Regions from separate parts of the Homo sapiens genome. Here all the other regions are linked to region 4. Evidence: promoter capture Hi-C in 16 types of primary human blood cells and fetal thymus (Javierre and others, 2016). All regions are on one chromosome and are shown on one strand. Each heading gives the region's core, a stretch centred on a gene start or on the middle of the fragment in contact. The rest is flanking DNA. Distances are from core to core; before and after follow the strand shown. Region 1 overlaps CPEB1 (cytoplasmic polyadenylation element binding protein 1). Region 2 overlaps AP3B2 (adaptor related protein complex 3 subunit beta 2). Region 3 overlaps CPEB1 (cytoplasmic polyadenylation element binding protein 1). Region 4 holds the start of C15orf40 (chromosome 15 open reading frame 40). Region 5 overlaps CPEB1 (cytoplasmic polyadenylation element binding protein 1). Region 6 overlaps CPEB1 (cytoplasmic polyadenylation element binding protein 1). Region 7 overlaps LOC105370934 (a long non-coding RNA gene).

Region 1 (3,661 bases), core at 187-2,686, 400 kb before region 4:
CCAGACAGTTTACAACTCTGCAGTATTCTTCACTTCTTGTTTGTACAGAGCCTCAAGGTTAACCAGGAGAGAGAGCTTAGGGCCTTCTAATCTAATGCTTTCTTTCAAGCATGCAGGTTAGCCTAGATTCCCAGGAATATATTGAGTTTTTTATAAAGCCTCATATTTCATTCCCCAGCCTTTTAAGCTTTTTTGGTTAGCCTGTTGAGTTCCTAAACTGTTGCCTAATGCCTCAGGCACCTGGGATATTTAATAATTGCCTCTGATTTTTTTTTTTAAACAAACTTTCCCTGGGAAATGGGAAATGGCTGGCTGTACTTGGTGAGCTCGGAGGTAGGTCAAATACAACCACATAAGTGGGGCCTTGTGTGTAACCATGTAAAAGGTCAAGTAATGACAATTCGTTGAGGATGGGGCTTGAGCTCCAACTGTTTTGTCCTTTCAGTGGCTTCCAGGCTGCTAATTTTTGCTGTGATGCAGGTTGCTGGTTTTCAGGGTTGTAGTAGAGCTAGGGAGGAAGGTATGAAAATAATACAAATTAAAAGGCCACAAAGAATGTTGTTCTTACCAAGATTCAGCTATCTTGTTTTTAGTTTTTAAACAAATACTCCCCAGATTTCTGCAAGCTTTTGGTTTAATTTCCAGAGTTCTGACAAAGTTTATTGTGACAATTTTTTGCTAGTGTTCTCATTGGTTTTTATGTAGGAAGAATTTCAGAGGTCCTTATTCTGCCATTTCACTAATATTACCCTGATCATTGATTTTATTTTCATTTATTTATTTAATGTATAGAACAAGATGACAGTATCAGGAAGGAAACTGTATACTTGAACACTATAAAACAACTAGAACAGACACAAGATATTTCAATCTACAAAAGAAGAATACACAATCTTAAGTGTATATGAAATATTCTCCAGGACAGACCATATGTTAGTTAGGCCATGAAGTCTCAATAAATGTGAAATGGCTGAAATCATACAAAGTACATTCTGCAACCACAAAAGAACAGAATTAGAAGTCAGTAACAGAAGGAAAACTGGAAAATTCTCAAAACGTGGAAATTAAACAACATACTCTTCATCAATGGATCGAAGAAGAAATCACAGGGCAATGAGAAAATACTTTGAGATAAAGAAACACACCATACTAAAACTTACGGCATGCAATGAAAATAATACTTGGAAAGTTGTAAAATCCTATGTTAAAGATTATGCTGAATGTCGTAGCTCACACCTGTAATCCCAGAACTTTAGGAGGCTGAGGTAGGAGGATCACTTGAGCCCAGGAGTTTGAGACAGCCCAGGCAACATAGTGAGAGACCCTGCCTCTACAAAAAAAATATAAATTAGCTAGGCATGGTGGTGCACAACTGTAGTCCCAGCTGCTCAAGAGGCTGAGGTGGGAGGATTGTTTGAGCCTGGGAGGTCGCGGCTGCAGTGAGCTGTGATCACGCCACTGCACTCCAGCCTGGGCAACAGAGCGAGAGCCTGTCTCAGAAAAAAAAAAATAATAACAATAGTAATTAAATATCAATAACCTAACATTCTACCTAAAGAAACTAGAAAAAATAAACACAAAGCAAGTAGAGGAAGCAACAAAGATTAAAGTCGAAATAATGTCTAGAAAAACTATAAAAAAAAAAAACAGAAGTTGGTTCTTTGAAAAACATCTGCAAAACTGATAAACCTTGAGCTAGATTAACCAAGAAGAAATGAAAGTGGGTACAATACTACCAACCTTACAGAAAGTAAAAAAGAATATAAATTACTATGGGCTGGCTGCAATGGCTCATGCCTGTAATCCCAGCACTTTGGGAGGCTGAAGTGGGTGGATCACCTGAGGTTGGGAGTTTGAGATCAGCCCAATCAACATAGAAAAACTCCGTCTCTACTAAAAATACAAAATTAGCCAGGCATGGTGGCGCATGCCTGTAATATCAGCTACTTGGGAGGCTGAGGCGGGAGAATCGCTTGAACCTGGGAGGTGGAGGTTGCGGTGAGCCGAGATCACCCCACTGCACTCCAGCCTAGGCAACAAGAGCAAACCTCCGTGGCAAAAAAAAAAAAAAAAAATTACTATGAATAATTATATGCCTGCAAATTAGAAAACATAGGTGAAATAAATTCTACAGCCAGAAATTACCAAAACTAACTCAAAGAAACAGACAATCTGCATACGCTTTTAATGAACAAAAAGCCTGTATTAGTCATCAACAAACTTCCCAGAGAATAGTCCAAGACAAGAAAGCTTCGCTGGTGAATTCTACCAAAAACCTAAAAAAGAATAAATACCAATTATTCACATGTACTTTTCCAAAAAGCAGACGAGGAGGGAACACTTTACAACTCAGTCATGAAGCAAGTATTTCCCTGATACCAAAATCAGGCAGAGACCACAAGAAAACAAAATCATAGACCTATCTGTTTATTAATCTAAATGCAGTGGCATCTAAGATGGATTACACACTATGACCAAATGGGGTTTATCCTAAGAAGACAAGGTTGGTTCATTATAAGAAAAAAAATCAATAAAATATAATATTAATAGAACAAAAGTAAAAAAAAATCACATGATCATCTCAATGGACACAGACAAGTATTTGATGAAAATCCAATACCCTTTCATGATAAAAATATTCAATAAACTAGGAATAGAAAAAAACATCCTCAGGCCGGGCCCGGTCACTCACGCCTGTAATCCCAGCACTTTGGGAGGCCAAGGCCGGTGGATCACCTGAGGTCAGGAGTTGGAGTCCAGGCTGACCAACATCATGAAATCCCATCTCTACTAAAAATACAAAAATTAGCCTGGCATGGTGGCGCACACCTGTAATCCCAGCTACTCTGGAGGCTGAGGCAGGAGAATTGCTTGAACCCGGGAGGCAGAGGTTGTAGTGAGCCAAGATCACGCCACTGCACTTCAGCCTTGGGGACAGAGTGAGACTCCAGTCTCAAAAAAAAAAAAAAAAAAAAAAAAAAAAAAGAAAAAAAGAAAAAAAAATCCTCAACTTGATAAAGGGCTCCTACAAAAACACCCACATCTAACATCATATTTAATGGTGAATGAAGTCTGCTCTCTTCACTTCTATTCAAAACTGTACTGAAGATTTTAGCCAGCACAATTAGGAAGGAAAATGAAACAAAAGGCATCTAGATGGAAAAAAAAGTAAAACTATCTTTATAGATGATACACCCAGAAGGCATGATCTTAGATGTAAAAAATCCTAAGAAATCACACACACAAAAATCCATGTACAAAAACCAGCTCTATTTCTATACACTAGCAATGAACAATCTGAAAATAAAATTAACAGTTTGACTTACAATAGCATGAAAAATAAATATACTTATGAATAAATTGCAAGACTTGGACACTGAAAACTGTAAGAAATCACTGAAATAAATTAAAACAAAAAAAATCCCCAATTCATGCATTAGAAGACTTAATATTGTTAAGATGGCAATAGTAGGCCAGGCACAGTGGCTCATGCTTATAATCTCAACGCTTTGGGAGGCTGAGGCAGGAGGACCCTTTGAGACCAGGAGTTCAAGACCAGCCTGGCCAACATAGCAAGACCCCATCTCTACAAAAAAATAAAAATAAAAATTAGCCAGCAGCCACGGTGGCACACACCTGCAGTCCCTGATACTCAAGAGGC
Region 2 (4,123 bases), core at 242-2,741, 330 kb before region 4:
AACACTGATAACAAGCTCAGGGTCACATGGTCCAGTGTCTCTCCTCCTTCCACCTGAAGACCTAAGGTTTGGAAGTTACTTTTGATAAGGCTAGCATATTTAATTATACAGACTCAGTTGCCTCCACATGTTGCTGCTGTCCTTTGACTCCTGATTACAGTCACAGCACTTGGTGGCCCTGCCTACCTCACCTTGAGCCTCTGGGGCTCACTCTGGCCACAATGGATCAAAGAAGCCACTGAAAAAGATAAGTGCCACCATCCAAAGACTCCCACGCACAGTGGACATGGCAGGGATGCTACAGTCTCCAGGGGATATCCCTGCTATAAATCTGTAGACCCCAGCCACCTAGCCAGAGGTTTTGCTTCAAGGATTGGCAGAGTCTTTTTATAAAAGGGCCAGAGAATAACTATTCTAGGCTTTGTGGGCAATACAGTCTGTTGCAACTAGTTAACCCTGCTGTTGTAGCACAAAAGCAGCCATAGGTAATTTGTAAATGAATGAGCAGGGCTGTGTTCCAACAAAACTTTATTACAAAAACAGGAATAGGCCAAATTCAGCCTATGGGCAGTAGTTTGCCAATCCCTGTCCTGCTTAACTGAGTGGGAGAGTGTGGAAATCGTCATGGTGTTTGATGTCCCTGACACCTTGAAAAGCTCAGCACATTATGCTTCATTTTAGGAGAATCTCCTGGAACCATCTCAGGAGATGCCAGACAGCTAGGAGGCTCTGAACACCCTGATACTACAACTTAGTTGAGCCTCATCCTTGGCTGTGTATCTCTTATAACCTTTCACCTTGGGAATGACAGTGGCCACCAGCACCACCCAAGCCCAAGCAGAGACTCACCCCCTTATCTTTGGCACAGACTGGCCAAGCATTGTCAAGCTTTGGAAAGAAGCACAGACCACATCTGGGATGCATGTTCTCCCATCAGTACCTGCCACTGTTGGGCCCTTCCCTTATCCCAATCAACTGTGGTTCTTCACAGCCCCAGAGTTCCAAGGTGGCAGACAGGACTCTTGTACTAGCAGACTGGAGGTCACAGCTTCATAGGAGAGTCTCTTCAACAGTGACCACCAGCACTACAAGGTCTTTGTGGGCACTGGGGTAGCATTGGTTATGTGGGCAGACCAGCCACCTTCCCTGATTCTTCTTTTCCAAAATAGGAGCTAGAGTTCAGCCCTGCCTAGGGAGGGCCAAAAGAATACTGTCTAGGGAGTTTCTGGGGACCAGAGTATCTGGGGGGTCATCTCTTAATCTTTACCTGTTTAGAGTTGGTCAGGTAGAGCTTGGCTGCCAGGTTGATGACCTGCAGCTTGACAATATCCTCCTCTGCTGTGAATGACTTGGCCATTTTTCTTAAGACATCAGGTGCAATCCTGGGGACATGCTCACAGTACTCTCCGATGAGCCACAGGATGCTGGCTCGGGCCATGGGCACCTGTGGTTGTGGGAGAGGAGTGAAGATGGGTAAATACGGGAAAGTGGGTGGGTAGGATTGTGGACTTCCAGGGAAACAGCACTCCTCATCTGTGCTGGCCTGTTGTATTATGGGTTCTCTGGAAATGGGAGTTGGGGGTGGTGAGATAGAGAGAGGTTAAAAGGTAGACATTTCCTAGACAGCATTTCCCCTCTTCCCTAGGGCTTCATTAGCATAGAGCTTTCAAGACCCTAAGTCAGTCATGATGTAAAAGATTGATTTTCTGGATTCATTGTACCCTCAGTACTTTATTTCCATGTTACTCTCCAGAATCTTTGGGAATGCCTTGTTTAGATGTTTCAGCTTAGCAGTGCGATAGAAAAACACAAGATTTGTCACTCAACCATGGTTGGCTAGAGCTTTAGAGAGAAAACAAGAGTAGTAGTAAAGTCCATCGTGCTCATTGAGGGTCTCCAAAGGGAAAGCAAATCAGGGGTAACAAGGTCAGGGTCACATGGTCCAGTGTCTCTGCTCCTTCCACCTGAAGACCTAAGGTTTGGAAGTTACTTTTGATAAGGCTAGCATATGTAATTATACAGTCTTGAAATCATGGGGAGGACCTTGAAGTGGGGAGTGAAAATATGGCTTCTCCCTCACCTGGATGTTGTCTGTAAGCTTTGCCAAGTGTTTGATGATCTCTCCATGTTGTGCTGGCTGCATCTGTAGCAATTTCTTAATGACGACCACTGACTCTGCAACCACAAGCTCTACAGAACAAAAATGAGTGTGTGGACCCCAAGACAGTCAGATGGCCACACTCAGGTGGACAGACACACCTGCAGTGCCCCAGGCCCTTGGCTCTTTCTCTCAACCCCCTTCAGTTCTCTAGCAGCCCTCAGAGGTGTAGGAACACTTGGGCCCTGATCAAGACAGACAGACCAATGGATACACATTGTGTCTAGGCAGACTGGTGGATATCCAGTGGCCAGCAGAGTCAGACCTGCAGGCAGACACCCTCTGATCATCACGGTTAGACACTCAGGGAAACACTGACCATCACGGTTGGACAGCAGCTGCACCAGGCCATTGAGGCAGGTGTCACGGACTCGGCCGATGTTAGTTGCACAGCGTCCAATGGCCTGGATTGTGGCTGCCACAAAGTCCTTGTCCATGCTGCGAATATAGGTCTGTGGGATATGACAAAGAAATCCCTCAGTGACTCTGCAGGCTTGAGGGTGACCTTCAAGAAGGCTGTGGCCTTTCATTTTATGGCTTATCATGCCGGTGACTAAGACTTGGGAAAGGGGGTGACAACTCCACCCCCAATCCAGTGATTCCTTGGCCCAAAGCCAGCCAAACACATTGGAACGGGAATGTAAGATAATAGTTTCTCCAGCCTTGGGCTCATAAGAGGAGGTTTACCCACCAGGGCACAAGGATCTGATGGGCCCCTCTCCCAGGCCCTTCTGGCTGGGAGCTGGCCTGTACCTGGAATTCCCGTAGGACAGTAGGAATGTTGGTCTCATTGGCCAGGTTGGTCAGCACTTCCAGCTGCAGGGAGGGTTGGAGAGGCAGAAAATGGGTGGGTTGGCCAGTGGACTTTCTGTGCTTTCATTCCAAATACACTTCATAGACCAGAAAACAATCCTCATGACAGCCCTGCATCATCCTCACACTGATGAGGGAATTGACAGGTTATGAAACTTGTCTAAAAAGCAAGAGGACCAGTTTGCCTCTTAAGTGGATTCCCTACACAGTATGCTTACAGTATGACCATGTCACCTCCCTACTGCATTGAAAACTTAAAGCTTCCTATTGCTTTCAGGATGGAGACCATCGTATTCACCATGGTCTGTAAGTCCCTGAATGATCTGCTTGCTGTCTACCTCCCATCTCCCATCACTGTCCCCCTTGTCTTCCAGGCCCCAATCCCACTCCACTTCCTAACCCAGGGTCTTCGCAGATGCTGTTTCCTCTGCGTGGAGCAGTTCTTCCCATTTCTGTCCCTGCATAATTCATGTTCATCTCTCAGGCTTCAGCTCAAGTCTCATATCCTCCGGGAAAACTTCCCTGGCACCAGACTAGATGAGGTCTCCCTATTTTATGCCCTTATAGCTCTCCACACTTTCTTCCATATTTTGTAAGTGGACTTTTACATTTGCCTTGTGATTAACTGCTTAATGTCTCCTCCTCCCCACATCTGTAAGCTCCACAAAGGCAGGGTCCCTGATTAGTTTGCTCATCATGTACCCCTAGAACATAGTGGATGTTCACAAGGGTTAGGAAGATTAACTGTTGCTGAAGGAAATCACTCAATAATGAGGCAGCAGAGCAGGAATCAAATGGAGGTATGGGCTCCCGCCACTTTCCTTGTCCGTGAATGTTTGCAGGAGAGCCTGAGGGGGCAGGTGTGTGGGGGCCATAACACTGTGGGTGGGAGAGAAAAGTGTGAACCTTGGAGTCAGCAGAATTATGTGACCTGGGGCAGTTACCTCCCAGAGTCTTTTTTTCTTTTTCTTAGATTGAGATGGAGTTTCGCTCTTGTCACCCAGGCTGGAGTGCAATGGCACAATCTCAGCTCACTGCAACCTCTGTCTCCCAGGTTCAGGCAATTCTCTAGCCTCAGCCTCTCGAGTAGCTGGGATTACAGGCACCTGCCACCACGCCTGGCTAATTTTTGTATTTTTCGTTGAGACGAGG
Region 3 (4,197 bases), core at 1,697-4,196, 390 kb before region 4:
GCTTAAATGACAAAGCCACATCCTACCCCACCCTCCTCCACGGACGGGGACGGAATCACTTCAAATGCTACCCCCCTCCTTATGTGATCCTCTTTATAAGCCAGGGAAGGGTTGAGCTAATGTTTGTGGTAGGAGGGACAGCTCTGTGACCTTTTGGTAAGCCCTGGCGGGAGGTATCTGGTCCCACCTCTTAGGGATTCTCATTACACCACAGGTCATTTAACAGCTCTTTAGTCTCAGCTTTGGGCCCTAATGGCCAATTCTGGAGCAACAGAAAAAAAATAATCTACTCAACATCCAGTTAAGACTAAAGTAATTTTAATTCTCTTCAAAGCCTATTTCAAATGCTGCTTTAACCAGAAGTGTTTCCTAGTTCTCAAACCAAACCAACCTCTTCCTGACCCTATCACAGCACTTTTCCAATGATGCTTTATCAACTGGGTTATGCATGCAACTAGCAATGTGAAACACTGTGTTAGGAAACACACCATTTGAAAATTTATTACAAAATGTTTGTTTTAGAAGAACTAGTGGGGAAAAGCATACAGAAAAAAATTACCCAGCCAGGTGCGGTGGCTCACGCCTGTAATCCCAGCAGTTTGGGAGGCCAAGGCAGGTGGATCACTTGAGGTCAGGAGTTCAAGACCAGCCTGGCCAATGTGGTGAAACCCCCATCTCTACTAATACAAAAATTAGCCAGGCGTGGTGGGGCATACCCGTAATCCCAGTTACTCAGGAGACTGAGGCAGGAGACTCACTTGGACCCGGGAGTTGGAGGTTGCAGTGAGCCGAGATCACGCCACTGCACTCCAGCCTGGACAACAGAGCGGGACTCCGTCTCAGGAAAAAAAAATTACCCATAATTTTTTTCTGCTATTACCTACCTTCACTGTCACATTTATATCATTCCAGTGTTTTTCTATGCATATATATTTAAGGCCATTCTTTTTACACTTTTTTTTACACCTGTTTTACACTTCGCTTTTTTTCATTTCAGACACTGTAGTTATCTTTCTTTGCCATTAAGTAGTCTTCTATAAACATTATATTTTATGGTACATGATATTCCATGGTATAGCTCTCCTATCATTTACTTAACATTCTGTTGCCAAATTGTCCCTAGTTATAATGCTGTCCATAAACAATCTTAGGTTTTCATAATTCTGATTATTTCCTTCAAGGAACAAAATTACTTTTGATCAGAAGCTACAAGTTTGGGTTATTTCTTAAGGTTCTTCATAGAAAAATATATATCCTAGTTTACTTTCTCATTAATCACAAGGTTGGTATTTTTGCTGGTGACCACAGAAAAAATGCTCTCTGCTGTAGGCCAGGCATCCTTGTTTCACCATTCGAGAATACAGGCCCACAGCCCTGAGCTGAATCACAAGTGGAAAGCAGAGAGAGTTCACCACACATGGGAGGGGCTGGGTATACGTGAAAGGCTCAAGAACATCAGCTACCTTTGACAGAAACCTTTCCTAGAATTCCTTGAGTTCCCTTAAATCTGCAGTATTGTCTTAACATCTGAGCCCCATAAGAAACCTGTGAGGCAGGTTGAGCAGGTACCATTCTGTCCTGCAGCTGAGAAAACTGACCTCTTTATCTCACTGCCCAGGGTCAAGCTTAGAACCCAGGTTTCCCAATTTCCTCAAGATCTTCCTCCTGCTTCTCTTAGAATGTTCTAAGAGGCTGAGAAGGAGCTGAAGAGCCCGAGAAGTCTTTAACTTGTACTTCGGCTACTGACCCTGGGCAGAGTATAATGGTAACAACATCGTCACCAGACCCTGGCATCTTACCAGTGAAGTCACTGGGCTCCCTGGACAGCTGCAAACATACACTCTGGAAAGCTCCTCTCCCATCAATCATGGGTCCTTTCCCTGAAGTCCAACACCTAGTATTAGCTGAAAAATATTTTCCTGTAAACTAGAAAAGTTTCCAGCATCTCTGAAACAACCCAGTGAGGTTTAAGTCATTGTTGAATTGTTGAGTGTCATACTTTTTTTTTTTTTGGCAGAGGTGGGCAGGGGTCCTGCTCTGTCACCCAGGCTGTAGTACAGTGCCACAACCACAGTTCACCGCAGTCTCGACCTCCCAGGCTCAAGTGATCCTCCCACTTCACCCTCCAAGTAGCTGCAACTAGGTGCACACCCCACATCTGGCTAATTTTTCTATTTTTTTGTAAACGGGGTTTCACCATGTTGCCCAGGCTGGTCTCAAACTCCTGGCTTCAAGTGATCCACCTGCTCCAGCCTTAATTACAGGCTTAAGTCACCATGCCTGGCCTGTCATTCTTACTGGGACATAATACATGCAATTTTCTCAAAGGAGAAAAACAGAACATGTATTAGAACTAAGAAAGATGACTCCCTGAACTTTTAACTCAGCGTAAACTAAAAGAGAATTGGGCTAGCTCATGACTTACATTTTTCTTTTGTACAAGTCAGAAGAGACAAAAACCACCCCCACCCCCAAGTATGCCCTTCTCTCATTTGCCTTCCTGTACGACAGAAGCAAATGCCACAAGTTAGTCACTCCCTTAATATGCCTCTCCCTCAAACATTACGCTATTTACTGCTCACATACTCCTGCATTTTTGTGGGAATTATTTCTAACGCCAAGTTAAAAAAATAAATAAAAGAATTTACAACTAAAAACAGTAGTTGTCCTTTGGTATATGTAGGGAATTGGTTCCAGGACCCCCAGAGTATACCAAAATCCGCACATACTCAAGTCTTGCAGTTGGTCCTGAGGAACCCACCTATACCAGAAAAGTCAGCCCTCCATACGTGTGGGTTTTACATCCCTTGAATACCACATTTTCCAGCTTTGGTTGAAAAACATCTGCATGTAAGTGGACCTGCACAGTCCAACGTAGTGTTGCTCAAGGGTTGACTGTAATTATCAGTCCTTGTTTTGAGAATCCCCATTGTGGCTAATTGTTTTCAAGGACCATTTTTAAAAATTAAACATATATTCTTTCATCTAAAACAACTGAAACAGGCCAGGCACAGTGGCTCGTGCCTGTAATCCCAGCACTTTGGGAGGCCGAGGTGGGTGGATCACCTGACGTCAGGAGTTTGAGACCAGCCTGGCCAACATGGCGAAACCCCATCTCTACTAAAAATACAAAAAATTAGCCAGGTGTGGTGGCGGGTGCCTGTAATCCCAGCTACTTGGGAGACTGAGGCAGGAGAATTGCTTGAACCCAGGAGGCAGAGGTTACAGTGAGCTGAGATCGCACCACTGCATTCCAACCTGGGCGAAAGAGCTAGACTCTGTCTCAAAAAAAAGAAAGAAAAACAAAATATAAAATAAAGGCCGGGTGCAGTGGCTCACACCTATAATCCCAGCACTTTGGGAGGCCAAGGCACGCAGATCACAAGGTCAGGACATCGAGACCATCCTGGCCAACATGGTGAAACCCCATCTCTACTAAAAATACAAAAATTAGCTGGGTGTGGTGGCGCGTGCCTGTAATCCCAGCTACTAGGGAGGCTGAGGCAGGATAACCGCTTGAACCAGGGAGTTGGAGGTTGCAGTGAGCCGAGATCACACCACTGCACTCCAACCTGGCAACAGAGTGAGACTCCGTCCCAAAAAACAAAAAGAAAGAAAGAAAAAGAAAATATAAAATAAAATAAATAACTCAAACCCAGAACACTTCAACATTCTTATAATGGGTTGCAACTCCCACAAAATTAAACACCATTAGGACATCCACACCTCTTGGAAAGAGTCAACTTCAGGGGATGCTGCCCTCTATCTCCACTATTCCTTGGAGTATCCAATAGATACAGAAACTAAATGCGTGCTGACTCATGTTTAAAAGCTGTTAAAACATTCGAGAGCTACACTGTCCAGTGCAGTAGCCACTAAACACCTGAAATGTCCATGTTGAGATATGCTTGTAAAATCCACACTGGATTTTGAAGTCGTAGTACTAATAAAAAAAATCTCATTAATAGTTTTCATATTAAATGTTGTCATATTATAATATATTGGGTTAAATAAAATATTAATTTCATCTGTATCTTAATTTTAACATGGCTACCAGAAAATCTGTAACATATGTGATCCACATTATATCTCTTTATATAAATACTTGTGTAATCTGTGACCTTTTCTTTTTTCCCCAACCTTTCTGTGTATCATAAAGTAGGTTTACACATCCTAATCAAAGGCAGTCTTCACCCA
Region 4 (3,928 bases), core at 537-3,036:
GTTTTCTCCCTCTCCTTAGGCCAGTGATCATTAAACTACACTAAAATGTCTCTTCTTTCTCTGGCCAATGTCTCCAGTTTTGGAACAGGACAAACTAAGAATAATCCAGACTACACACAAGTTTCCATAACTGTCCTTTCTAAAATACTGTATTTTTAAAGAGGAAAATATACAATGGTTTTCGTGTAACTTGGCATGATTTAAAGATATATTCACTTTAAGACACCTTTACATTAGAATCTAGAATTTTAAAATGGAGAAGCCTCTAACTGCAGATGTGAAAAATCAACTGTCATAGAATAAGCTTTCAGCTAACCAAAGCAAAGGAGGGCTGTAGGAGACACCTGATTCACACTTGAATCCCACCCCAGTGTCCAGGTATACCTGTTACAGCATTTTGTTTGGAGCCAGGTTTTGCATGGATGGCTATGGTGACGCATCCTTTAGGATCAACTGCCACAGGACCTAAGGGAGGAAGTGGTCTCTCTGGTTCCTTGCTCTGGCTTTTACCCTAAAATGACAACCACACAACTTTACAGGTTACAAAATATTTTCCCACACATTTAATTTGATTCTTCCACTACCCCCTTTCACCCTTAACAGACAAACTAGGCTCATCAGTGGTGTCCAGGGACTTCTGGCCACCTAGAAAGCTTTTCCCACAACCTTCAAGGCTCTACTCAATTTTCCCACGAAGGGTTCCCATCAACCCAACAGTGTTTTTTCCCCCCTTGCAAGAAAACCTAACTCTGGCTTCTAAACCTTAATGCTTGCTCCTCCCTCTGCTTTGTATTTCCAATTCCTTGGGGGCAGGGATCATTTATTATTCATCATTGTATCTCATGCAGTCGGAGCTAATAAATGTTGGTGAAAGTGTGTATGTCTGCATGTTGCGGGAAAGGGAGGAAAAAAAAATAGTGCTTGATATTTAAAGGCCTGTTATGGGACAGGGGCTGTGCTAGGAACTTTCGTTCAACAAATATGTAGGCAATGGATATGTAAAGATGAAAAGGTACATGGTCCTTGCTCTCAAGGAGCTCGGACTGCTGCGAGGGAGAAAGAACATACAAAATTATAATACACTGTGCTAAGTGCACCGATGAGATAGGCACAGAACATTACCCCACAGGCAAATCAGCATTGGGGCACTGGAGAATGCTGCCAGCAGGAGGCAGTGCTTGAGCTGAGTCTGAGAAACGGACTGGGGTTGGCCAAACAAAGATGGTGGAAATGGGAGTGCTGTATTCTTGACAGAAGGGGTGCGATCAGCCAAAGCAAGGGAGGAGAAAGCAGAATACAGCCTCCTGGGGAAACGCAGGTCATGCCGCTGCGGGAACATGAATTGCTGGACTGGGAGTGCGGGTAGGAGGCCAAAGGTCAGCACACGCAGCCCAAGGAGAGCTCGGCTGCCGCCGGGCCCAGCGCTCAGAAATCACCAGGTGGACGGCAGCGCAGCCTACTGAGGCGGGGCGACGGCAGCAGGCCGCAGCTCTGGGGGTGGCGGCGGCTGTCCTGAGCCCCGGAACTGAGAGACGGCAAGCCGCTGGCAGTGCCTCCACTCACTCCCGGGCCCCGCTTCTCCCGCGCTCTTCAACAAGTACCCCTGAGGCCCACCCCTCTGCCGCCACGGGACCTGCTACTGGCCTTGGTCGTCGCACCAGCCTTCTTAGGCATCTCGGCGCAAAGAAGCCGAGCGGAGCCCCGAGTATTGGGTGTTGCCCGAAGGTGCCTCAGCCCGCTGCGGAGCCGCAGCATCCCCGCCTGGGAAGGCGCCGGAAGAGCCCTCTGCGCTTGCGCAGGTAGCCGGCAGGAGCGGCCCCACCGCCCGGCGCATCCGCTCTGGCCAGAGGGCGACACCTTAAGGCCGGCGGGAGCGAGTCTCGTGGCCGCAGAACATGCGCGAGTCTCTTTTGTTCTGGAACGGGCCGAGCCCCAGGAAGTGGAGCTGCGGAGCTGAGGCCTCACCGTGTCTTGGCCCACCCTGCTCAGCTGATAGGAAGGTGTGTCACCTCTTTCCTAATCGGGGAAAGAAAGGTATTGTCACTTCTCAGAATTGGAGAGCGCGGCAAGGAGTGCACAGGGCCAGGTGTCTTCTCGCTCCCACAGCCAAGCAGCAGATGCAGAGTCCCACGCGCTGCCTGTGGCCATCAAGTCGATATAGAGCCTCGTGGCGGCTTGGCCCTTGTGAATCTTCCACGTATCGATGGCGCACCTACCTTGTGCCAGGCGCAGCGGATCCCACAATGTAAAAGAAGAGGAAATACACTGCGACATGTGATATGGAGAGACATGAAACAAATCAGCAGAGGCAAGATCATGGAGTCACTGAAGGCTTTCAAGCAAGGGATTATTAGCAGCCCAATTTGCTGGGTTTTAGAAAGACACCGGCTGCACTGTGGCCGACAGAGGAAAAGCCAGAGACAGGGAGATCCGCCCCCTAAATGGGAGAGGGTGGCCTGAACTAGAGTAACCGCAGGGAGGGTGGAGCGCTGATCATTTCAAGGATCTTCAGGAACTGAAATGATCAGAACTTGGGAATGACTGCATGTGCGAATAAGGGGGAAAAGTCAAGGAAATGCCCAGGTTTGGGGCCCAAGGAACAGGTTTGGGAGGCCGAGGTGAGGAGTTCAGCTTTGGACATAATGAGTTTGAGATGCCCACAGGACATCCAAATACAAATGTTAAAGGGGTAACTGAATATATGTGACTGGAGTTTGCGAAATCAAGGCTGGTGATAGAGATTCTGGAATCTTCTGAAAGCAGATGGCAATTGAAGCTATGGAAATGGATGAGAGAGTGTGTAAAGAGCACGAGGGCCCAGGTTAGAACAGCAAGGGCAGGTAGAGAAGTCACCAAAGGACACTGACCAGGTAGGAGTACGGTGTAACGGCAGCTAAAGAAGGGCGCTTCAAGAGGGAACATCAACAGTGATGAACACTCTGGAGAGAACATGTCACATGTAACGACTGAGAAGTGGCCACAAGATTTAGAAATCAGGGTGGTGGTGGTGACCCGGGCTACAGCAGTTTTAGTGGAGAGAAGGAAATGGAGATAATTGTAGAGAATAATCCAGTGACTTCACTGTGAAGGAGCAATTGGTATCTGGAGGGGCACATGACATTCAGAGACTTATTTTTATCATATTTGAAGATTGGTAGGAAAGAGCCAGGAGAAGAGAGGTTACAGCAGAGGACGGTTCCTGAAGAGGTAGGATCTGAGCTCAAGTAGAGATTGAGTTCTCTACAGGAGGCCTTAGACACTCCTTCCTTCCTAAGGGAAAGCTTAGGTGGACATGTAGCTGTGTTTGTAGGTTTGGTGATGGGAGGTGGAATTTCTTTCATTAACTAAGGCGGGGGAGGTGTTGAAGGTATATTGGGACTCTTGAGAATGGCAAAGGGCTGACTATTGCAACTCACCCAGCGGTAGACAGTTAAGGGAGACCGTGAAATCATCTATGATCCCAATCTATAGTTACCTTATTTTATTTTTGTTTATTTTTGAGACAGGGGGATGGGAAGAGCCTGTCGCCCAGGCTGGAGTGCAGTGGCGGGATCTCGGCTCACTGCAACCTCCGCCTCCTAGGTTCAAGCAATTCTCCCTGCCTCAGCCTCCAGAGTAGCTGGGACTACAGGCGCGCGCCACCACACCCATTTTTTGTATTTTTAGTAGAGACGGGCGTTTCGCCATTTCGCCCAGGCTGGTCTCGAACTCCTGAGCTCAGGCAATCCACCCACTTCGGCCTCCCAAAGTGCTAGGATTACAGGCGTGAGCTAGCGCCTGGCCTATAGTTACGTTACTTTAGATGCCTGGATTCACCAGCTAAGAAGTTTTTTTTTTAATTAAATTTTTTTTTGGCCCCAGTGCTACTACCAAAGCAGTCAGGAAGTTGAAGATAAGGCAGACAACTGGATTGATTCAGGTATATTTA
Region 5 (3,882 bases), core at 522-3,021, 440 kb before region 4:
TGGCCAGGCAGTTCTCTGAGTGTCTACAGATCAAAGGAAGGAAAGCAGCAAAGACAATGGAAAGAAAGCAGCAAAGCAGCAAAGACAAAGGGAAGTGGGGGGACCTCATTTCAAGAAAGAAAACCTGTCTTGCTCCCAGCTCATGAGACCATACCTGCCCTATGTAAGGTTGCTGAGTACGCAGCACCGATTTCCACCAGCTGGGAATCAGAAGGAAAGGAGCAAAATAGCTAGCGTTAGACTGTTCCCATTTATATTCAAAGCCACGAGCATACCTAACTGGAAAGGCATTCTCTTTAAGCCACACAAACTAAAATCCAGTGGAAATGACAGGTCCCTTATAATGCAGGCCAGTGTCTCATCTCAAAGTCCACTCCCCATCATGGGGCACACAACTTCATAATTCCAAATGTCAAGTATTAACCTAGATGGATTAGAGGAGGGGGAGGGGTGGTGAGAAGTCCTAGAGTCAATCTCCAATAACGGCCAAGGCCCTGACCTCTTTGCTCTGTTCTTTCCTGGCCTCCAGAACACAAGGGATCATGGAAAGTCTGAGGTTTACCAAGTGCCTCCAGCTCTGGTGTCCAAGTGTCCAGCAAATTCCTATCTTCTAAAAATGGGTAAGACATTGTGCTCTTCCTAGAACAGACGTACCCATCCCCATTCACATGCTGGCAGGAAATCAGCTACAGACATCTCTCAGGGAAGTCATGGGGAGGAGAGGACCTGGCAGAGGGTTCCAGTTCATTAATGCTACCTCAGAGGGTATAAGAGACCAAATCAGCAGTGATATTTTTAGACTGATTGTTAATTTTCTCTACTTTCACCCTTCTATGCCAGCTCCTGTCGGTTTTACAGCTGAGTCACTGTTCAAATTTTCGGAAGCCTTCCCCAAGAGTACAAAGGCACCTGGAGTGTGATGGCAGCATTAGCAATGGCAACAAGAGCCTGGCACTGAATGCCTGCATTATAAGACCATCTGAGCTTGAGCTTAGCTGAAGGAGAGACTAGCCCCAAGACATGATGGTCAGATATTTGTTATCTAATGGGAATAGTCTAATGGGGGAAAAAATCTAACGGGGAAAATCCAGACCAGGAGCCATTATTTCTAGCCTGTGATATAAGGCCGTATACCTGGAACCCTTCTTCCCTATCACCATCCTTGGTTCTAGGTTGCTTACTCAGGATCTCTCTGAAGGAATAGGAAGGGGGGAGAGTAGCATTCATTCCATGTATGAAAACAGACCACTCTGCCTGTGACCCCAAATCTGCAACTCTATACCATATCTCTACTGTGGCGGTAAACAGAGTGTGGACTTCCCCCCGACTGTGGATCCCACAAGTTCAAGTTAGTGACAAACACAGCCCTTCTCCCCAGTATAACTCCCAGTCTTGATCATCAGGCAAGTTCCATTACCTGTAGAAAAGACATATTCATGTCCCTTGTAAGGTCAGCACACATCCTGCCCCTGTCACTAACCACCTCAACTTCTTTCTCACCTAGGAGGCCTCCCTGGCCACACTGCTTCCCAGGTTCTCCCTCCTCTCTGCACTGAAAGCTTTCCCAAATAGACTACTTGACTCCACAATACAGCTCATGCTCCACTGTATGATGAAAACTTTGTATAATTACATCACCGTCCCCTAGAAGCTACAGGGCCCAAGATACTGATCTTTGAAGAATCTGTCCATCCAGCTAAATCAACACAAGCAGGAGGCAGAAGAATGGGAGAGACCTTGTCTGAACTCTGCAGTTAAAAAACAACCAGGATAAACACAGTGGCTCAGCACTCATCATTCATTCAAAAAATATGTATTAGACAGCCATTAGCCAAGCACTGTTGTACTGCTGGGAATATAGTATTGGAGAACTGGGAGTTGAGGAAGATTTACAAGAGACCTGGTTGGGCCGAGGAAGTCCATGTTCCACATAAGAGAGACCTAATCCCGTTCTGAATGTCGCCTCAGAATGGTTGTTTGGAAGAAGCTTCAGATGAAAATTGCTTAAGACTCCCCACTCATCTTAGGCTGATGTAGCCTGCAGATCAATGGGGAGCCTGCAAGTGACACAGCACAGGGAACATTCCATTCACTGATTAGCAGTTAGGGTAGAAAACCAGAGTGTGGGCCAGGCACGGTGGCTCACATCTGTAATCCCAGCATTTTGGGAGTCCGAGGCGGGTGGATCACAAGGTCAGGAGTTCAAGACCCACCTGGCCAAGATGGTGAAACCCCGTCTCTACTTTAAAAAAAAAAATTAGCTCGGTGTGGTGGTGGGCACCTCTAATCCCAGCTACTCAGGAGGCTGAGGCAGAGGATTGCTTGAACCCGGGAGGCAGAGGTTGCAGTGAGCCAAGATCGCACCACTGTACTCCAGCTTGGTCGACAGAGTGAGACTCCATCTCAAAAAAAAAAAGAAAAGAAAAGAAAACCAGAGTGTGAACAGGTTAGTCCTCAAGAGACTTCTAAAGGGGAGTGGCAAAAAACAGACATGTCCTCTGGCAACCTTAGACTGCACATCTGGTCTGCCCACTGGGCTTCTGTACAAGGCATCATTAAGAGAGTCCTTGTTTCCAGGTCCCCCACAGTAGTCTCAGTCACCTCACTCTTCTGCTGCATAATGCTGCACACAAAAGAGTCGCAAGGGGGAAGGCAGGAAGACAAATCCAGCGGGTGGTACAGCTGATAAGCTGAGACTCAGGGATCAAGATGGGGCTGGAACTGTCTACCATATGCCCTCACCTTCAGAGATCTCATCAAGGGAGCACATCACCTCTAGCTGAATAGCCCCTATAGTAGTATATGGTTACTTTAAGTTTTCTCACCCAATATGTTAGAGTTCTGCTAACAGGACCACAGGTGTAACAGGAAGCATATGAATTTTGTAACCAGAGACCTGGGTTAGAATTCTGAGCCTTCCAGGAGTTGTGTCACTTTGGGCACTTTGTAACCTCCATGAGCCTATTTCCTCATCTGTACAAGCATTAAAATCATGTGATGTACTTAGCACAAAAATTAGTCGATAAATGGTGGTTATTAGTCACTCCATGCCCCATTCCAGGATACTGAGGACAGTTTCCACAGCCCTTCTGTTCCACTACAGATCTTAAGACATTGCAAGCAGGACAAGGGTAGCCCTGGACATGAGAAAGGGTAGCACTGGGGTATGAGAAAAACGCACTTATAACACTCATCTTGCCCCCAAAGTCTTCCTCCCCATCAAGGGATAGTGCCTCAGGGTAGGCACAGTCTAGAAGAGAAGGACCCCACAAAGTGTTACATCCAAGCCCATGCAGGCCTTGCAGGTACAATTCTCAAAAACAGACTCTATCCCAGGGTCTTCTTGCAGGACTCTGAGGCCAAGGAAATCTAGATAGCAGAAGTACTCTGGCCCCTGGAGAATGGTATCCATGTACCAGCCTAAAGCTAAGAATCCAATGAAAGGTTGTTACAATGAAGAAAATCCTTAGGGGAAAAAATGAAAGCCCCTATCATAGCAGATGCAGCACTCGGTATACCTCCTCATTTGTTTTCCTTTGATAGCCACGGAGATTCTTAAAGGTAACAATTTTATCTTAATCAATGTTGTACTTCCAGTGCTGCACACAACGAATGCTCGACGTTTGCCAGATGAATTTAGCCAACAGCCCTACTATCTCCAACCTTGCTCATTACTTAAGAGTGGTAGAAGATGGTCAGATGTGATGCCATAGCTGCCTTGGGCAATATATCACCAAGCAGAGCTCAAGGAATAAGCTTGCATCTTGGTCTCTACACAGAGACAACAGTGTAACAGGGTATCTGCAAGGATAACTCCGAAAATGCCCAGAGCTGTTGAAAGCCTCCTCCCTCACTGAAGCAACTGAGCTAGCTGGTTTTCAG
Region 6 (4,139 bases), core at 780-3,279, 460 kb before region 4:
ACTCCATCTCAAAAAAAAAATTTTATTTAACCCTATATGTTAATAATATTATTTCCAAATGTGACAACAGCTGTGTTTCCAAAACTCAATGGGGCCACATTTAGCTGGTAGCTACCATATTCGTACCATATTTGACAGTGGAGATCATGTTAGCGTGAACCATTCAGGAATGGGGGAAGAATTTGCAGATCAAGATGGGAAGGAAAGATAAGGGACTCCTTCAGTGCAGGTAGAGCATAGGTTAAGGTTAAAGGATTCAGAGTGGAAGCCAAGATGCAGATAGAACACTTGTCTGAAGGGTAAGCCCAGCAGTTGAACTGAACCTCTCCTAGCCCTTAGGCACTCTGGAGACCTATTAAGAGAGCTGGAAGAAGCCCCATCCTGCCAAGTTCCTCCTCCGCTCCTGGGGCTTCTGAAGTCCCTGTTCTCAATCTGCTGCACAGTATTGGTGAGTACATGGTGCTCCTTCCTGACCAGATTCAGTGTGGGTGTGAAGACTAAGCATTTGGGGAGGTGGGTTAGCCACATGTTAATCACAGAGGTCAGGCTCTGCTCCACCTCCATACCTCATCATTGACATTTTGCCAGGACTGGCGAATTGACCTCCTTTCTCAGAGGAGCTGATCAAAACCTAGTGGTTAGGCCCACAGACTTCTGAGTTAGGAAAGCACAGGCCACACTCTGTTGCCTGACTCACTCAGAAAGTCCTCCTCCAGCCTGACCTGGTCTCTGACCTTAGACAATGCCAGAGCTTTTCAAGAACTTTTAATAAAAAACTCCAGGCAAGTTCAGAGAATTGCAGCCTTTTCATGAAATAGTACCTGTTGTCTGTTCCAAACTGGTTTCGCTGTGAACTCTGAGCTTCCAACAAAGTTCCTACCTCACTCTCACTTCTTATCACCTCCTGTAGTCTCCAATAGCTTTTTCTCCCACTGCGTGGGAGATGGTGGGTAGAGGGCTAGATACAGAAGGGCCAGTACTCGTGACTTGTCTAGAAAAAGATATTATGGTGCTGGTATATGCTGATCTGCAGACCTGGGTCAGGCCTCTCTCCTCACTCCCATGGGGAAGTATCACAATCTTGGTCTACTCCCAGGGGCCAACCAAGCTTTCGCACACAGAAGTGGGACACTTACCAATGGGATACTTGTGCTTATCTGTGTCAATCCCGGCATACACCACTCCACCAAATAGGTCGTTCAAGATGGCTGCCAGGGCCTCAGCATTTAGCATTCCATGCAGAGCACCGACAAACACCGTCCTGCTGGGGTCAAGCCTCTGAGATGGGCTCCGGACAAAGTTACTGTCGGCTAATACCCAGGGGATCACCTGCACCTGAAAACCACCCAAAGGTGTATCAGCCCTGGCAGAGAGCCACAGAGAGAGAGGTGCTTGCACGGCAAGGTACGTGCTCTGGAGATACTGAAGCTAAGCTAACGCCCTTACAGGGGTGAAAAGGTGCTGTTGCCCAATCTCAGGCACACAGGCGTCCAATAAACCACCCTGACTCCACCCCAACTGGAGTTGAATTTTACTGAGTCCATGTGTCCAGAATGGTAGAAGTGGACACAGTACTCACTCATGCTGGAGAGTAAGCAAAAAAGTACCACATGGCCAAACCCAGGAGCCCAGCATTCTATTTCAACCTCCAACTGTGTAGTTCCAACAAAGGGCTGTGGACACTGATGAAAAGGGCATAATCTGAAGTCCTCAAGAAAGGAAGGACTCACAGAGAAATTAAAGGCTAGGATCCTGAAGGACAGAGGGGTGGGAGTGCTTACGATATTTGTATGAGATGGTTACTGGCCCAACCTAGCCTTCAGAGGGTTTGTGCCAGAGCAGTGGAAATGACTGGCGAGAGGTTGGGTAGAAAGTCACATACAAGATCCCTGGAGTCTTAAAGGGCTGGGGCTGACCATGTCCTTTGCCTCTGAATCTCCTGAACCTGGAACAAAACCTTGTAGAGCAGGTGGAGGAGTCCAGAATGAAGTGAAGATCTAAAAATATGTCTTGAAGCAGGAAGAGATCTGAGGCAGAAACCAGCAAGGAGGCAAAAACAGTAGTTTCAAAGGACAGGTGATTAAGACTTGGACAAGGCTGGTGGCAACGAGCAGAGAACAGGCCAAGACCAAAGAGATTCTTCAACAGAAGAGTCTGCAGTACTCAGACAGCATAAGCAGGATGGGCAAGCAAGGAAGAATCAGGCCTGGTAGGTGCTGGGCCTACACGGTCTTGGGATGAGAGGACCTGGCAGAAGTTACAAGAGGGGAGCCAATTTCACTGGAAGATGAAAAAGCCAATTTTGCCCACAAAAGAGTTTGGGATTACAGGACATCCCGAAGAAGGATCCCACAGGAAGGTGAGGCTCAGGTAGGACATGAGGCTAGAAAGGTGAATCTGGGTCTAAAGGTGAGAGAAGCCACAAAGTGAGTCATTTATCTGAACTAGAAAAGAAGAAGGGAGTCAAAGATTGGCTATATTGGCTATGTTGGTGCTGGCGGGGAGAGGAACACAAAGGAAAAAGAAAAGTAGAGAGGAAGGAGAACTGCATCAGCCTATAGCCAGTGAATCAAAGAAAGATTAAATCCCTGTAAGGTGATGGGAGGGAATGGGAGACAGGATGGTGTCTACAGGGGCACTGAGGAGGAAGGGGAAGGGCTCTGTGATATGCATATGGCCATCTCTGGTTGTGAAAGCAGGAGGGGAGGAAAAAGGAGCATGTTAATTAAGTCCTAGAACATACTAAGGTGGGAAGACTACACAAGCTCCAGAGAATAAAGAAGCAGAGAAGGTAGGGAAGCTGTGGGTCACTGTGGGCAGCCAGAGGATGAGCCTGCCCTCTCTCTAACACAGAACAAGAGCCAGCTTTGTTACATGGATTTATTTTAAATCTAATGTGACCATCCCAATAAAATAGGCATTTCTCCTCTTACCCTATAGATTTTTTTAGAGAAGCTTTAAGGTTTACAGTAAATCTGAGCAGAAAGTACAGGGATTCTCCAAATACTCTCTGCCCCCACACTTGCGTGACTTCCCCACTATCAGGATCCCGCATGAGAGTGGAACATTTTTTTATACTGACCCATCATCCCCACCGAAAGTCCATGGTTTGCATCAGAGTTCACTCCTGGTGTTTCTTTTACCTTCTATGGGTTTGGACCAAAGTATAATGACATGTATCCACCATATACAGAATAGTTTCACTGCCCTAAAAATCCTCTGTGCTATGTCTCTTCATCCCTTCCTGCTAAACCCCTGGCAACCACTGATCTTTTTTACTAAAATAGGCATTTTAGTTTCCCATCTTATAGAAGAGAAGAGGAAACAAAGTTTCAGAGATATTAAATATCTAGTCCAATGTCACAAAAGTTGTGTGCTCTCAAATCCGATTTTACCACCGCACTGATTCCTGAGCTCAAAACTTGCTTTGACAAGTGGTTCTCAAACACTACCCACTAGAACCACCTGGGGATCTTTATTCAGTTGGAGATTCCTAAATTCCACCCAGAGTGATTCAGTAAGTCTGGGATAAGGCCCAAGAATGTGCAATGAGATCCCCAGGTGAGATAAACTCGTTAGAGACCCATGCTGCCAAGGATACATAAGGCTGATATTAGAAAAAGCGTAGGAAGAGAGAATCTTATGGGGAAAACCCACAAAACTAAATAAAGCCCTGAATAAGAATGAAGAAGTGACCCACAGGTGGGTGTGGGCTAAAGAGGAATTCACCCCCACAGACTGGGAGGTCACAAGGCACAGGAAGGGCAGGACCAGGGAAAAACAGCTGTAGGTTTATCAGTTAAGTCCAAGTAGAGAAGTTTGCTGTTCTCAATTTCATTTCTAAGACAAGAGGTTTGAAACCAAAGTGTTGGCTACAAGAAAGAAGAGCAGAATAAAGACGGGCAGACAGTTTGATTACCATGGGCAGGCATGCGCATGTGTGCATGCACACACCCCATTAAGTCCCAAAGGTTGCTTTTTTTTTTTTTTAATGTAATTGAGAGGATACTGCTATTTTATTGTGGGACAAGAAGAGCCTTCTTGCCTCAGCAGGAATACTCCTTGCCTGCAGCCTGCCTATCCACCTACCACAAGAAAATCCAGTGCCTCAATATTCCAAGACCCTCGATCCAGAAAGG
Region 7 (3,946 bases), core at 1,383-3,882, 350 kb after region 4:
TCTTTCTTCTAAAGTGTTTTATTTAATAAAAGGTTGATATTTTGTCAACTGATTCTGATCCTAGTTTTGTTTTTTTTTTTTTTTTAGAGTAAGGGGAGGAGGGGGAGACCAGTGGAGGAAGGAAGAGGGGACTTGGTACTACCTAGAAACTGGTTCTGTGCATTTATCTTTCTTTGGATGCAGGAGTGGGTTGCTTAGAGGAAGAAATGAAAGCTGTGTTGATTCTACTTCTGGAAGGGAATTTAACAGCTGCTGCCAGGAGTCATGAGGCAGTGGATTCTGGTTGATAGTCGAAATTCTGATTTGGGGTAAAAGAGCATGAATATATCTATCTTGCTTAGAATGTTCCAGTTTTACCATTACCTGGAGACCATGGAGAACTATAAGGGGAGTGGAATGTGAAGCCCAAAAAAAAAAAAAAAAACACTCTTTTTTTTGTTTTAAATTCTTGGAAGATTCATATTCAACAAAAGGGGCACAGTTAAGTCAATGACGCCTCATGCATTGGGGGAATATTATATATCCATTAAAATAATTTATATTATTATGAAACAAGCTTATGCTATGGTATGAAGTGCAGAATCTAAAATGAAATAAAACCAGAAAGACTCAGGACCCAAAGTTGTTGCTACAGAATATTAATAACTGGGTTGATAAGCTCCCTGCCTGGGGCCTGGCTTACCTCCGCAGCACCATCTCTTATCACTCCTCCTCCTCGAGGCCCCTGCCCTCTGCCCTCCAGTCACCCCAAAGCCACGTTTCACTCACACCTTCCCCCCATTGCCACCCTTTCCATCTCCTGGACAACTTCCCTTGATTCTTTAGGTATAAATTTAAATGTCCCTCCCTCAATTTAAAACCCTTCCCTAAACCCAGAGTCCATGGAAGTGCCCTGAGGTCTCAACTTAAATGTCTCTCCCTCTGGAAACCCTTTCCTAAACCCAGAGTCCACGGAAGTGCCCCGAGGTCAAGTCCCTCCTACTTACTTTTTGTACTTCCAGGTCATCACACTTAACACAAGGTCTCTAAGCTGTGAGCTCTGAGAGGAGGATGCAGTCATTCATTGCAGTGTCACTAGCATAGTGCCTCAGTAAGTAAGAATATAGACCTGAAGGAAATAGGCCAGAATGTTGCCAGTAGTTGCCTCTAAGTGGGGCAACTCATGCAGATTTGTATTCCCTTTTTTCAAGTTTTCTGTATTTTCCAAGATTTCCACAATAATCATGTATTACATCATATTGTTATGATAGCAAATAACAATAACCCTTTAATTATAAAATATCTGGAAAAGGCATAAATATAGGCGACATCAAACGTTTTCTATTTTAACAGAACAGTGGGATTTCACTTGCACTTTTTAGGTCTTTATCTGGGGCAAAACATACAAATGCATCTGAATTACAAACCCATGAGAGAGTGTGGTGGGACCAGCGGGCCATGCAGAGCTGTGTCATGACATTATGCCAGTGAGCTGCATATACCAGGGAACTTCACCCTGTTAGGGACCAGGCTTTTCATCTCTCTTATTTTCAGCAACTCTCCCAGGGCTGGAGCAGAGAAGGTGCCTACTTAATAAATGTTTGCTGAATTCCTTGATAGCAGTTTTAGAGAAGAAGCTAACTTAAACTGACCCACAGAAAAGTGGAATGTATTTTGTGCCATTGTTCTGGAAATTTAGAGATGCACAGTAGGAAAAATTTCCCTCTGCCTTGTAATAGCACAACTGGAAGGTGTATATGTCTAGTTATACCCCATTTATCTAGGGATAAGGTTTAAAGTGACCTCAATTTTCCAGACTATGACCGAAAGCAAAAATAAGCCAAATAAATAAATAGGAGCGAGAGAGAAACAAACAAACAAAAAAAGAAGCCTGTGAGCATCCTAACAAGTTCACAACGGCCGTCGAGTTCATGACCTGGAAACCTCCAAGAGCTTCACACAGCCTCCCTCAGAACATGCTTACAGGTACCTTGGACACAATTCTAACAAGCACAGCCTTGATCCTAACAAGGGTCCCATGTCATCACATACTAGGGGCGTTTTCCAAAGGGGCGCGATACCTTCCACGGTGTAAAGGCACTGGGACTTTACTGATGGCACAAGGTAAGCAACAAACATCAAAACTAGAACAGGCCTTTAAAGAACTTCTAGTGAAGTCCACCCCCTCCTTTTACAGATGAAGAAGCACAGTTAGCGAGGTTAATGGCCCCAAATCACACAACAATAAGGATGAAACTGTGACATACAATAAACACACAAGTAAACAAAAACCTCCCAGGCCCCTGACTCCCTGTATCAAAGCAACTGTAGTCAAGGGTCATCATGACCAAATGAAAGGAAGGCAGAGGAGTAAGTGCTATATTTTAGAGTGATTCCCAGCAAACATTCTTTTACAATTTTTAATTGGTTCTTAAGAATGATTATCCTCAGTTATCTGAAGTACTGAATTCTGGCAAAGTTCCACTGCCCGATATTGCTGGACAGAAAAATAACTCCTTTATATATATTTCCACCTATTGTTGCAAAATGGACTCAGTACTCTAGCTGGCTATCAGCTACACACACACACACACAGACACACAGACACACACACTTTTCATATCATCCCATTGAGCAGATAGCGTGCTTTGTGAAGGCAGGCAGACTTGTTCATTTCTGTACAGTGCCTGGGGCAGTAGTTTTTCTGGATGAATAAATAAATGAACAAATGAATGAACCTCAAGATTCAGTAGTCAAGCTGTCCTATTTAACTTTCAACACAGCACGCCCATGTCTTGAGGCCAATTCTTAAAATCCATATGGTAGATGCATTTGGTATGACAGGAAGTAATTAAAACAAACTGTAAGCATTGAGGGAGCGGTTGTCAACGCTTATTTTGATAACCAACAAACAATGTGGAAACTGCATTTTTCCCTGTAAATAGGGGCATGCTGAAAGATGGAAATGCAAAAAAAAAAAAAAAAAAAAGAAAGAAAGAAAAGAAAAACTTCAACACACTATGTAAATCCTTGGAGGGAAGCAAGAAATCACACAAAGCATTGATCTTTTACTTTTTTTAATGCAAGATTTACACACATGTAGTTTTGTGTTTCTTTGCTAACCCCTTTTCCTCCACGGATAACTGTTAAAATCATTCTCCCACTTAGTTCCCTTATTTAGTACCTCCTTAAAATTCAAGCTATTACTTCTTTTAAGGAGCAAAATTTGCAGATATTATCCTACTCATCTGCATCTTCTCCGAGACTATAAATTATCAGGATGCACCTCATGTCTAGACACCCGCAGGTGTCATTTGAATCCCTGATTTAAGCTGTTTACACCCCACGTTGTTTTATTTATCCTTCAACATCAGGTCTCTGTTTAATTAAAATTTACTTTGGTCCTCCTGGCGCTCGCCCGCACTATCCCCATAGCAGCACAGAAGTGGTTTTGCTCTTATTAATTCCACTTTTGCCTGTCTGCTCTAACCCAAGAAAGCTCTGCCCGCCCAGATCCCCAGCTTGAGTGTTGGAGTCAAAAACCACAAGCTAGGGCCAAGGATGCCTCCCGTTTACAAGCTGTTCTGCAGGCTAACGCTGATCTTCCCCAGACGCTAAATCATAATCTTCGTGTTTTTCGTATTTCACATTCTAGCCACAATTTCAACATCCCATCCCCGTGACATTAGGGAATGATAAATCAGCAGGCGGGACAGTTCCCCTGTACAGACTGGTACGGGCGGACCGGGCTCTGCCAACGCCCTCGCTCCTGCCAGATGTCGGCGCCCGCGGGGTTAACCCTTTCCGGCAGCGCAGCCTTCCCCTGCGTCCGGCCGCTTCTCCAGGCAGCTGTTTTTAAAAACGTCCGCCTCCCAGGTTCAAGAGCGAAACTCCGTCTCAAAAAAAAAAAAAAAAGTTCGATAGCTTTTATTTCTTTTCAAACTTTCCTCCTTTTTTCCCCCTTCTC

Evidence for each region. Contacts are between HindIII fragments. The CHiCAGO score rates a contact against its expected background, and 5 or more counts as called.
Region 1: a fragment that was not itself captured here is called in contact with the fragment with the promoter of C15orf40 in region 4 in 1 of 17 cell types (total CD8 T cells); the score reaches 5.0 in total CD8 T cells.
Region 2: a fragment that was not itself captured here is called in contact with the fragment with the promoter of C15orf40 in region 4 in 7 of 17 cell types (non-activated CD4 T cells, total CD8 T cells, naive CD8 T cells and 4 more); the score reaches 11.0 in non-activated CD4 T cells.
Region 3: a contact is called between a fragment that was not itself captured here and the fragment with the promoter of C15orf40 in region 4, in 1 of 17 cell types (naive CD8 T cells). The highest score is 6.1, in naive CD8 T cells.
Region 5: a contact is called between a fragment that was not itself captured here and the fragment with the promoter of C15orf40 in region 4, in 14 of 17 cell types (non-activated CD4 T cells, naive B cells, naive CD4 T cells and 11 more). The highest score is 10.0, in non-activated CD4 T cells.
Region 6: a contact is called between a fragment that was not itself captured here and the fragment with the promoter of C15orf40 in region 4, in 16 of 17 cell types (naive CD4 T cells, naive B cells, total CD8 T cells and 13 more). The highest score is 27.5, in naive CD4 T cells.
Region 7: a contact is called between a fragment that was not itself captured here and the fragment with the promoter of C15orf40 in region 4, in 2 of 17 cell types (M2 macrophages and M0 macrophages). The highest score is 5.5, in M2 macrophages.

What each region holds. Positions count from the first base shown.
Region 1 is chr15:82,608,004-82,611,664 of GRCh38, forward strand. The region is part of intron 3 of CPEB1 (cytoplasmic polyadenylation element binding protein 1); the gene reads right to left. Among named protein-coding and RNA genes, the nearest start is that of CPEB1, 38 kb to the right of the region's middle. The HindIII fragment of the contact is 1,624 bases long and covers 625-2,248 here.
Region 2 is chr15:82,675,194-82,679,316 of GRCh38, forward strand. AP3B2 (adaptor related protein complex 3 subunit beta 2) reads right to left here. Exons shown (of 27, transcript NM_001278512.2): 11 at 2,912-2,974; 12 at 2,478-2,610; 13 at 2,081-2,190; 14 at 1,268-1,444. All of the region lies in intron 3 of CPEB1-AS1 (CPEB1 antisense RNA 1), which reads left to right. Among named protein-coding and RNA genes, the nearest start is that of CPEB1-AS1, 29 kb to the left of the region's middle. The HindIII fragment of the contact is 1,210 bases long and covers 887-2,096 here.
Region 3 is chr15:82,622,835-82,627,031 of GRCh38, forward strand. The region is part of intron 3 of CPEB1 (cytoplasmic polyadenylation element binding protein 1); the gene reads right to left. Among named protein-coding and RNA genes, the nearest start is that of CPEB1, 22 kb to the right of the region's middle. The HindIII fragment of the contact is 2,646 bases long and covers 1,624-4,197 here.
Region 4 is chr15:83,009,853-83,013,780 of GRCh38, forward strand. C15orf40 (chromosome 15 open reading frame 40) reads right to left here and starts at 1,787. Exons shown (of 4, transcript NM_144597.3): 1 at 1,645-1,787; 2 at 385-511. The coding sequence starts at 1,755. It overlaps LOC124903542 (a long non-coding RNA gene), which reads left to right and starts at 1,889. Exons shown (of 2, transcript XR_007064742.1): 1 at 1,889-3,207. RefSeq lists an enhancer at 1,965-2,024. The HindIII fragment of the contact is 2,628 bases long and covers 652-3,279 here.
Region 5 is chr15:82,565,231-82,569,112 of GRCh38, forward strand. The region is part of intron 4 of CPEB1 (cytoplasmic polyadenylation element binding protein 1); the gene reads right to left. Among named protein-coding and RNA genes, the nearest start is that of RPS17, 27 kb to the left of the region's middle. The HindIII fragment of the contact is 428 bases long and covers 1,558-1,985 here.
Region 6 is chr15:82,548,324-82,552,462 of GRCh38, forward strand. CPEB1 (cytoplasmic polyadenylation element binding protein 1) reads right to left here. Exons shown (of 13, transcript NM_001365242.1): 10 at 1,137-1,335. Among named protein-coding and RNA genes, the nearest start is that of RPS17, 9.9 kb to the left of the region's middle. The HindIII fragment of the contact is 1,847 bases long and covers 1,107-2,953 here.
Region 7 is chr15:83,361,927-83,365,872 of GRCh38, forward strand. It overlaps LOC105370934 (a long non-coding RNA gene), which reads right to left. Exons shown (of 3, transcript XR_932546.2): 3 at 3,112-3,875. Among named protein-coding and RNA genes, the nearest start is that of BNC1, 79 kb to the left of the region's middle. The HindIII fragment of the contact is 4,157 bases long and covers 555-3,946 here.